2 separate regions of the Homo sapiens genome follow, and region 1 is linked to region 2. Evidence: promoter capture Hi-C in human tissues and cell types (Jung and others, 2019). All regions are on one chromosome and are shown on one strand. Each heading gives the region's core, a stretch centred on a gene start or on the middle of the fragment in contact. The rest is flanking DNA. Distances are from core to core; before and after follow the strand shown. Region 1 has its middle 16 kb from the start of RXYLT1. Region 2 holds the start of SRGAP1 (SLIT-ROBO Rho GTPase activating protein 1).

Evidence for each region. Contacts are between HindIII fragments. The study calls those that stand out against the background at their distance.
Region 1: a fragment that was not itself captured here is called in contact with the fragment with the promoter of SRGAP1 in region 2 in 2 of the 25 tissues and cell types used here (heart left ventricle and mesendoderm cells).

What each region holds. Positions count from the first base shown.
Region 1 is chr12:63,761,691-63,766,210 of GRCh38, forward strand. No RefSeq gene overlaps it. Among named protein-coding and RNA genes, the nearest start is that of RXYLT1, 16 kb to the right of the region's middle. The HindIII fragment of the contact is 5,556 bases long and covers 1-4,520 here.
Region 2 is chr12:63,842,579-63,847,023 of GRCh38, forward strand. SRGAP1 (SLIT-ROBO Rho GTPase activating protein 1) reads left to right here and starts at 2,122. Exons shown (of 22, transcript NM_020762.4): 1 at 2,122-2,305. The coding sequence starts at 2,239. RefSeq lists silencers at 1,055-1,474, 1,535-1,594, 1,705-1,964 and enhancers at 1,127-1,628, 1,629-2,128. The HindIII fragment of the contact is 18,473 bases long and covers 1-4,445 here.

The sequences.
Region 1 (4,520 bases), core at 1,369-3,868, 80 kb before region 2:
ATTGTGACGTTGTATTCTATTATATGGGTATAACACAGTTTATACATTCACCCACTGAAAGGCATTTGGGTTCTGCCCAGTATTTGGCAATAAAATAATAAAACTGCTATAAACCTCTTTGTACAGTTTTGTGTGTGAACATAAGTTTTCATTGCTCTGGGATAAATACATAGGTATAAAATTTCTGGGTCATATTGTAAATGTATGTTTCAATTTATAAGAAACTGACAAACTATTTTCTATCTTGTATTTTGCATTTCCAACAGTAATATATGAGAGTTCCAGTTACTCCACTTCCTAGCACTTGGTATTGTTTGGGATGGTTTTCAATTCATTAATTGTGGTTTTAATTTGCATTTCCCTAATGGCTAATGATGTTGAGCATCTTTCACATACTTATTTGCCATCTATATGTCTTATTCAATGACTGTTCAAATTACTTGCCCATTTTTTAATTGGCATTTGTTTTCTTATCATTGAATTTTGGGAGTTTTTTAAATATATTCTGGATACATTGTTTTATTATATCTATGATTTGTGAATTTTTTTCCCAGTCTGTAGCTTGTCTTATTCTCCTAATGGTGTCTTTTGCAGAGCAAATGTTTTTAATTTGTATGAAGCCCCATTTATCAATGTTTTTTGGAGATTATGCTTTTGATGTCATATCTAATAACTTTTTGCCAAACCCAAGGTCAACCAGATTTTCTTCTATATTTACTTCTAAAACCTTTATAATTTTACATTTAGATCTACAATCTACTTCAAGTTAACTTTGGTATAAGGTATAAAAATTAGGACTTTTTTGGATATGGATGTGCAATTATTCCAACATCATTTGTTGAAAGAAAATACTCTTCATTGAATTGCTTTTGCACCTTTGTCAAAGTCAATTAACTATCTCATTATGCACCTACTTTTGGGCTCTATTCTGTTTCACTGATCTACGGGCCTACTGTTTCACAAATATCATACTGCCTTGATTACTGTGACTTCATCAGAAGTCTTAAAATCAAATATGGTACTTCCTCAAACTTTTTTTTTCTTCAAAATTGTTTTGGCTATTACAGTTCCTTTGTCTTTTTATGTAACTTTAAAACAAGCTTGTCTGTTTCTACAGAATATCCTGCTTGGATTTTTATTTGAATTTATTAAAATCTATATATCAATTAGGGAATGATTGATATGTTAATTAAGTCTTTCAATCCATGAACAGAGTTATCACTCTTCATTTATTTATTTAGGTCTTTCATTTTTGTTTTGTTCTTTAGTGTTTTTTATTTTTATTTTTTCTTTGAGACAGGGTCTGGCTGTGTCACCAAGGCTGGAGTGCAATGACACAATCACAGCTCACTGCAACCTTAGCCTCCCAAACTCAAACCATCTCCCTATCTCAGCATCCTGAGTAGCCGGGACTACAGGCGTGCACCACTACGCTTGGCTAATTTTTGTATTTTTGGTAGAGACGGGGTTTCACCATGTTGCCCAGGCAGGTAGTGTTTTCTTTAGTGCTCAGCATACATATCCTGGATACTTTTAAGTTAGAGTTATACTTAAATTCTTTCTTTTTGAGGGGACAGGGAACTATTATAAATTGTATAGTTATTAATATTTTTTCCATTTACAACCATACATTGCTAGTGTATAGAAATATGGGACTGGCCACAGTGGCTTATACCTGTAATCCCAGCACTTTGGGAGGCCGAGATAAGAGGATCACTTGAGCCCAGGAGTTCGAGACCAGCCTGGGCAACAAAACAAGGCCCCCATCTCTTCAAAAAATTTTAAAAATTAGCTGGGCATAGTGGCATGCACCTGTAGTCCCAGCTACTCAGGAGGCTGGGGCAAGAAGATCATTTGAGCCCAGAAGTTCTTGGGTCCAGTGAGCTATGATCATGCCACTGCACTCTAGCCTGGGTGACAGAGTGAGATACTGTCAAGAAAGGAAAAAGAGAGACAGAGGGGAAAAGAAAGAAAGAAAGAAAGAGAGAAAGAAAGAAAGAAAGAAAGAAAGAAAGAAAGAAAGAAAGAAAGAAAGAAAGAAAGAGAGAAAGAAAGAGAAAGAAAGAAAGAAAGAAGGAAAAAGAAAGAAAGAAAGAAAGAAAAGAAAGAAAGTGAGAGAGAGAGAAAGAGACAGAAAGAGAAAGAGAAATAAAGAAAGAGAGAAAGAGAAAGGAAAAGAAAAGAAAAGGAAGGAAGGAAGGGGAAGGAAGGAAGGAGAAGGAGAAAGAAAGAAAGAAAGAAAGAAAGAAAGAAAGAAAGAAAGAAAGAAGCAGAAAGAAAGAAAGGAAGGAAGGAGAGAGAAAGAAAGAGAGAGGAAGGAAGGAAAAGAGAACAGAAAAGAAGAAAGGAGGAAAGGAAAGGAAAGAAGGAAAAGAAAAATGAGATGCCACATTTTGTAGTGAAACTTTTTCAGAGGAAAGTATAGAATGGTGATCAGACTCAAAACCACACCACTTAAAGCAATTGGAGAAATTTTAGCTCATACAGGAGACTCAGGGAGATAAAATAGACTATCATGGGTGGCTTCAAATATTTGAAATACTGTGAGTAACTTTACGAGTTATATATGTATTTTAGGAAGATAAAGTCCCAATGAAGTTTAACATTAATAGGAGATTAATAAGAAAATAAGAACTTCAACAACCTAATATTTTAAAAGATCAATCTGTCAAAAACTGAAACTCTCAGAAAATATGAGCTGTGAACATCTTGTCAGACTTTTCCATCAGAAATCAGTCAACAATTAAACAGCCTACACTAACGAATCTGTACTTATGCATTATTATTTATAAAGTCTTTCATATGGACTTGGTATTCTTCAAAAGGAATCTTAATGCTGGGAAGACAGAATCAGAAACTGTGAAGGGTCTGAGGTTTTACCTTACTTGTAAGCTAATAAATCAGCCTGCCACAGTTCCACAGATGCTGGCAGAAGACCCAAGACTCCTGGGTCAAAGACCAAGGCACAGCAAGTAGCCTAAGGATCATGTTTCATGCCAGTTCCCCTTGCCTCTACCTCTGCCAGGCAAGCCAGAGGGCTCCAAGTGGATGCTGCTCACGCAGTGGGTTTGCCTCACAGCTGAGGATCCTTGAGCTTGGGAAACCCAAATCTTTTATGATGGGCAGTAAGCCTGCTTGAACTTTTCGCCCCGAAGAAAATCATTCTTTATGATACTGGGCAGTAAATAACCTTGCTTTTTTTTCTCCAGAGGAAGACACTACCTCCATCTTCCAAGGCTCTTTGCTAACAAACATCCTTGAGAAAACAGTCCAGAACAAAGATGGCCCAACGCCTTTCCTCACAAGACATACAGAAACATGACAGACCCATGGAAAATTGTTGAAAGAGAAGAAGGAAGGAAAACAGGGAGGGAGGGAGGGAGGGAGGGAGGGAGGGAGGGAGGGAGGAAGGAAGGAAGGAAGGAAGGAAGGAACAAAAGAAGGAAGGAAGGGGAAAAAAGGATGAAAGGAAGGAAGGAAGGAAGGAAAGAAGGAAGGAAGGGGAAAAAAGGATGAAAGGAAGGAAGGAAGGGTTTACAGCAGTGGAAAGTTTTTATATACACATGCCAAAGGGAAAAAATTACCTCTAGAAATAAACATTGCCTAAATTGAACTTGTTCATATGTATAGAATAGAATTGATGTGAGACCAGACAGCAATATAGCACAGATCTGTTTATGTATCTGAACAGAAAAATAATAATAGAGAATAGGTTATTCAATGAATGGTTGCTGAAGATACATTTATCTTCAGCTCCATGAACAAGTTCAAACCAGATTATATTATCTCAGATATACACAGTAATAGGGGTCCCCCCTCCCTCTCTGGCTTTTGCAAAAAATGGCAATACAATTGTCCTAAAATCTTTGTAAGATCCAAGCTTGATTCTAAACAGCCTTTATACAGGCAAGACTGGGCATATTTTAAGGCCTGATGGAAATAAAACTAAAGAGATCTATTTAGGATGAAAAATGAGCAGAGGATAAAGGAGCTGTATATAAGCAGCACTGTTGACAATATTTTGCATAGTTAGTGGATACCATACCAGCAATATTGGCAGTGGCAAGAGACCCTTGGCACCAATATTAATATTAATATTAGTACCACTTGTATCAATATGGCAGGGAAGTGTCAGTGTAGACCTCTCCCAGCAGCAGTAATGAAGGCAACTTCACTGAGCTTTACCTAGGTGTTTCATACAGAAGACGAAGATGGCACCACGGCAAACCAAGGTGAAGGAGGAGGTGAATAACAAAGGCTACGGGGGAAGAGATATTTGTAGCAGGAATATCAAGGAGGAGACAAGCGTTCATGCAAAGTGATAGTGGCAGAGCCAAGAAATCTTTCTTTTTTAAAATTGTTATTATTAATTCACTTTGCCCACTTGATTGGTGTAACCTGAGAAACATGGTTTACTTATGAAAGAGTGACCTTGGCTAGGCATGTAGCTCACATTTATAATCGCAGCACTTTGGGAGGCTGAGGTGGGAGGACTGCATGAGCCCAGAAGCTCAAGACCA
Region 2 (4,445 bases), core at 872-3,371:
TCATCTCTACAAAAAAGTAAAAATAATAAAAAAAAATTTAAAAGGCTGGCAAGGATGGATTTAAAGTACTTAACACAACACCTGAACCATGCAAAGATGGCAAGGTAAATTCTTCGTTATATTGTTCAAAAAGAGACTAGAGTTTGAGACCAGCCTGGACAACATAGGGAGACCCCCGTCTGTACTAAAATGAAAACAAACAAACAAATAAAATAAAAAGAGACTAGACACGATAGATCTTGTAAAAGGTATCTATTAAAAACGTGGCCGGGCGCCGTGGCTCACACCTGTAATCCTACCACTTTGGGAGGCCGAGGTGAGCGGATCACTTGAGGTCAGGAGTTCAAGACCAGCCTGACCAACATGGCAAAACCCTGTTTCTACTAAAGATACAAAAATTACCCAGGCACGGTGGCGGGCGCCTGTAGTCACACCTACTCTGGAGGCTGAGCCAGGAGAATCACTTGAACCCGGGAGGCGGAGGTTGCAGTGAGCGGAGCTCGTGCCCCTGCACTCCAGCCTGGGCGAGAGTGAGACCCCGTCTCAAAAAAAACCCCCAAAAAACAAAATCAAAAAACAAAAACAAAAACAACCGTAAAAGTACTAAGTGCAATGTAGTGTCCTGTGTTGGATCTTGGAACAGAAAAAATGACACTAGTCGAAAAAATTGGTAAAATTGGAATAAAATCTGGAGTTTAGTAAATAAATAAGCTAACAACGCCGTTAAGTGTGACGTGTTTCCATACCATCGCTTTCCTACCATCCTAGCTTCCCTATCTACTGTAGGAATAGAGGATATGGTGTTCAAGGTGGGTGTTTTTCTCCGCCTCGATTGAAGAGCTTCGCGCTCTTTGGATTAACAGCCAGGTCATTCACAATTCAGTGTTCAGTTTTTCTATTGGGGTCCAGCGTCTCGGAGTAACATCCCTTTGTGTCATGGATACATCCAACTCTGGACTTCCCCATTAGATTCTGGCAAAAGCCCCACCAGAGCCCCCGCCAGAGCCAGAAGGCGGTCCCTCAGGTCAGGAAGGGGTTTTCCTGCCGCCGGAGCCGCGACCTCGGCTAGCGGTGGAGCGGGGCTTCGGCGGAGGGAGGTGCGGGGCCTCGGCGGAGGGAGGTGCCGGGGGCGCCGCCCACGGCCTCCTGGGCTCGGCGCGCGGGGCCGGGCTGCGGTTGGCCACAAGAGGCATCCATCTTCCCGGACCAGCCAGGCGTTTCCTAGCGGAGCAGGGGCGGGAGCTTGGACGGAGAAGGGCACAGGCCGGAGCGCGGTCCGCTCCCGCGAGCCTGGCCCCGCCTGGCGGAGCCCCGAGGAGCCACCGCCCGCAGATCGCTAGCCGGGCGCCCGCGAGGCGCGAGCCGTGTGCGCACCCTCAACTTTGCTGCCGCCGGGGGCGCGGCTCCCGCGTGCGTGTGCGAGTGTGCCTGTCACTAGCGGCCTCCTGGGGGCAGCAGCGGAAAGGGGGACGCAGAGAAAGGCAGCCTCGGCGCACCGCGGCCAGGGAGGCAGAGGCCCCTCGCGGCGCCGGCTCTGGAGACCTAAACTCCGCCGGGGCTGTGCCCAGGGCGCGTCTGAGCGTCGCCGCCTTCACCCTCTCAGCAGCAGCGGGGACTCGCGTCAGGACTGCGATTCCTTTCGCCTGCCGAGCTGTAGCGGCAGTGTCTGCGGGCAGAGGAGCGGCGGCCGTGGCAGCAGCATCCCCAGCCCGGGCGGGACCCTTGAGCGCCGGAGCCGACAGCTGGAGGCAGGAAGGGAGGGTTGTGGCGCCCGAGCTGGGCGCGTTCCCAGCGCCTGCCCTCCGCCGCTGGCCCTGTCCCGGGCGCCCGGTGCGGGTCTCGAACAATGGTGCGGAGCGCCGGCGCGAGCCCCGCGCCCGCCCAGCGGCCGTAGAGGAAGTGGCCGGGCTCCCGGCGAGGTGGGCAGGGAGACGTCCCCCGCCACTCGCTGGCTGGAGTTTGCCTGCGCGTCCGGCCTCTCCCCCGGGGATCCCCTGGGATTACCGACGGAGCTCAATTTCGAGAGTATGGTGCCAGCGCCCGGGCTAATCTAGTCCTCTCTACTCGCTCTTTTTCCCCTCCTCCTCCTACTTCTCCTCTCCCTCCTCCCTTCCCTCGGGTCGGCGCTGCCTCTGGATTGCCTGCGTGTGGGAGTACAACTCTGCCTCTCCAAGGAGAACGGGTTGTGACCACTGAACAAAACTTGCCCATTGAAAGCAAACCCGGAACAGCTGGATAATGTCCACCCCGAGCCGATTCAAGAAGGACAAAGAGATCATAGCCGAGTATGAAAGTCAAGTCAAAGGTAAGGATGGGAGCGGCTGCCTTGCTCCTTTTGTGTGCCTTCTTGTCATTGTGCTCGTGGAGTTGCGTATCTAACTTGGTGTCTGCGTGGGAGGAAGGTGGTGAGGGGACAGCTCGAGCCCTGTCTGAGCCACCTGGGCTTCCTACAAGCCAGTTAGTTCCCAGTTGCAATCCCAGTCCCGTCAAACCCACGGGGAGCTGGAAACTGGGTGACTTCCCCCGCCAGCTGCCAGCCCGCATCTCTAATGGGGAGAGAACTGGCTTTAACTTAACCACCTTCAGCTGGGCAACTTATGTGGGAAGCAGGCAGCAGTGGAGGATCCTGTCCAGCTATTATTATCACCATCATTATTCTTTTTAAATGGTAGGATTGTCACTACGTAATTTTTTTACGGAATGATTTTTGTAAAGTCTGTGAACCCCAAGCGGTCTACAGCCTCATTGAGTGCAGGCTATTTCAGATATTTACACCACTCACCTATTTACACCGCTCACAATTTATTAGGGCGAGACCCCTTTTATTAAATAGCTCCCTAAAAGCCTGGCAGTTAAACGAAGCAGTGACTAGTGGAATCTGACTCTTCCTTTATAATGGGCCAGAATTCATTGCCATCTTTCACACTCACATGGGAATATTGCTTTATCATTTTCTGGAAGCCACTTGCATGTAAAATGAAGGTTTGAATATTTGAGTAGTAGTTTCAGTCCATTTACATTGTCAACTAATGAAGGAAACCTAATTAAGGCTGATTATTTTTACTTTCTATGCCTTGTGATTAAAAATATATATATTTTCTCTCCAATACAAGTATTTTGTTTTGTTACTGAAGTGTTTCGTAAACATATGTGTTACTTGAATTTTTTCCTCCTCTTTCCTGAGGTCTCAGGAGTAGCTTTCCTGATTGAGACAATGGATGGAATGTTGGGACCGCCACTGTTCTTTGACACATTCAATGCAAAGTTCATAAAGATTGCTATGTATACACCTGTGTTTATCTATGCACAGTCTTATGAAAGGGCTACGGAGAGAGGCATTACTGTACTTCCCTTGAGCAAGGGAGGAGCAGCCTGAGTGTTCTTTTGTGTGGTCAAGTTGTAAAAATGCCTGGAGTCCTGTGAGAGGACCTGGTGGAGAAATCCTGTATCATCCAGTGTGAATACAGACCAACTCATTGTGGACACTGCAGACACAATATGCAAGATAACTTAGGTTATCTTTAGGAGGACCCCTATAATGGAGTTATCTATAGGCTGACCCCTATAATGTGTTCAGGAGACACAGATTTTTGTCTGCTTGGAATTGTGATAATTTATACTTACAGGAACTTGTTTCATTGCTATGGAAGTTGTGTTAGCAGATAAGTAATTATTTTCTTAGAGCCAGGTAAACTTTCTAATGAGACTAACCTTTCTTTTTTCAGTGAGTCCAACATAGCCTAAAACCTTTCATTCCAGGGCAGTACTCTTGTTCACAACCACCATTTCTCTGTGCAGTTTTTCCACATGGCTCTTTGTGGCAGGTCTTCAAGGGGTGGCGGTCTGGTTTTTCTGCCGCCTAGAGCACTAATTGGCAAATGCACTTCCAAATGTTGATTTCTTTATGTTTGCTGTAAGGTCACTTGCCAGTGATCAAGTCCTTATTTGAAAATCAGCGAAATGGGATGTGTTGCAATGTGTCTATCAAATTCAAACGGAAGAAAAATCATGAACATGGTGAAAATCACATTTGGAGCTAAGTCTGTCCCACAGAGAATGACCTTCTCCCTATTTCCTTCAACACTTCTTCCTTCCACACACCCACGAGTCCCTAGGCTGCTTTAGGAGTCTTCACTGCACCTGCCCTGCCCTGAGTCCAGGCTTTACCTCCTCCTGCAGTACCTACACATCCAGTATCTAACCTAGATCACTACATCCATACACAAACATGGGAATAAGGGAATATCATGGAGTCAGATCATATACGCATTAAATGGCACAAATTCACCTGGTACTTCTAGGCAAATCAAGAAGAGAGTGGGAGACAAATAACAGATAAATAGTACATGAGGCCAGCTGTCCAATGCAGGGAGAGTAGGCCCCTTAGTAAGGACAGCATGGGAGACAAGACTGGTTTTTCTGTACCCTCGCAGAGTGCTAGTCTG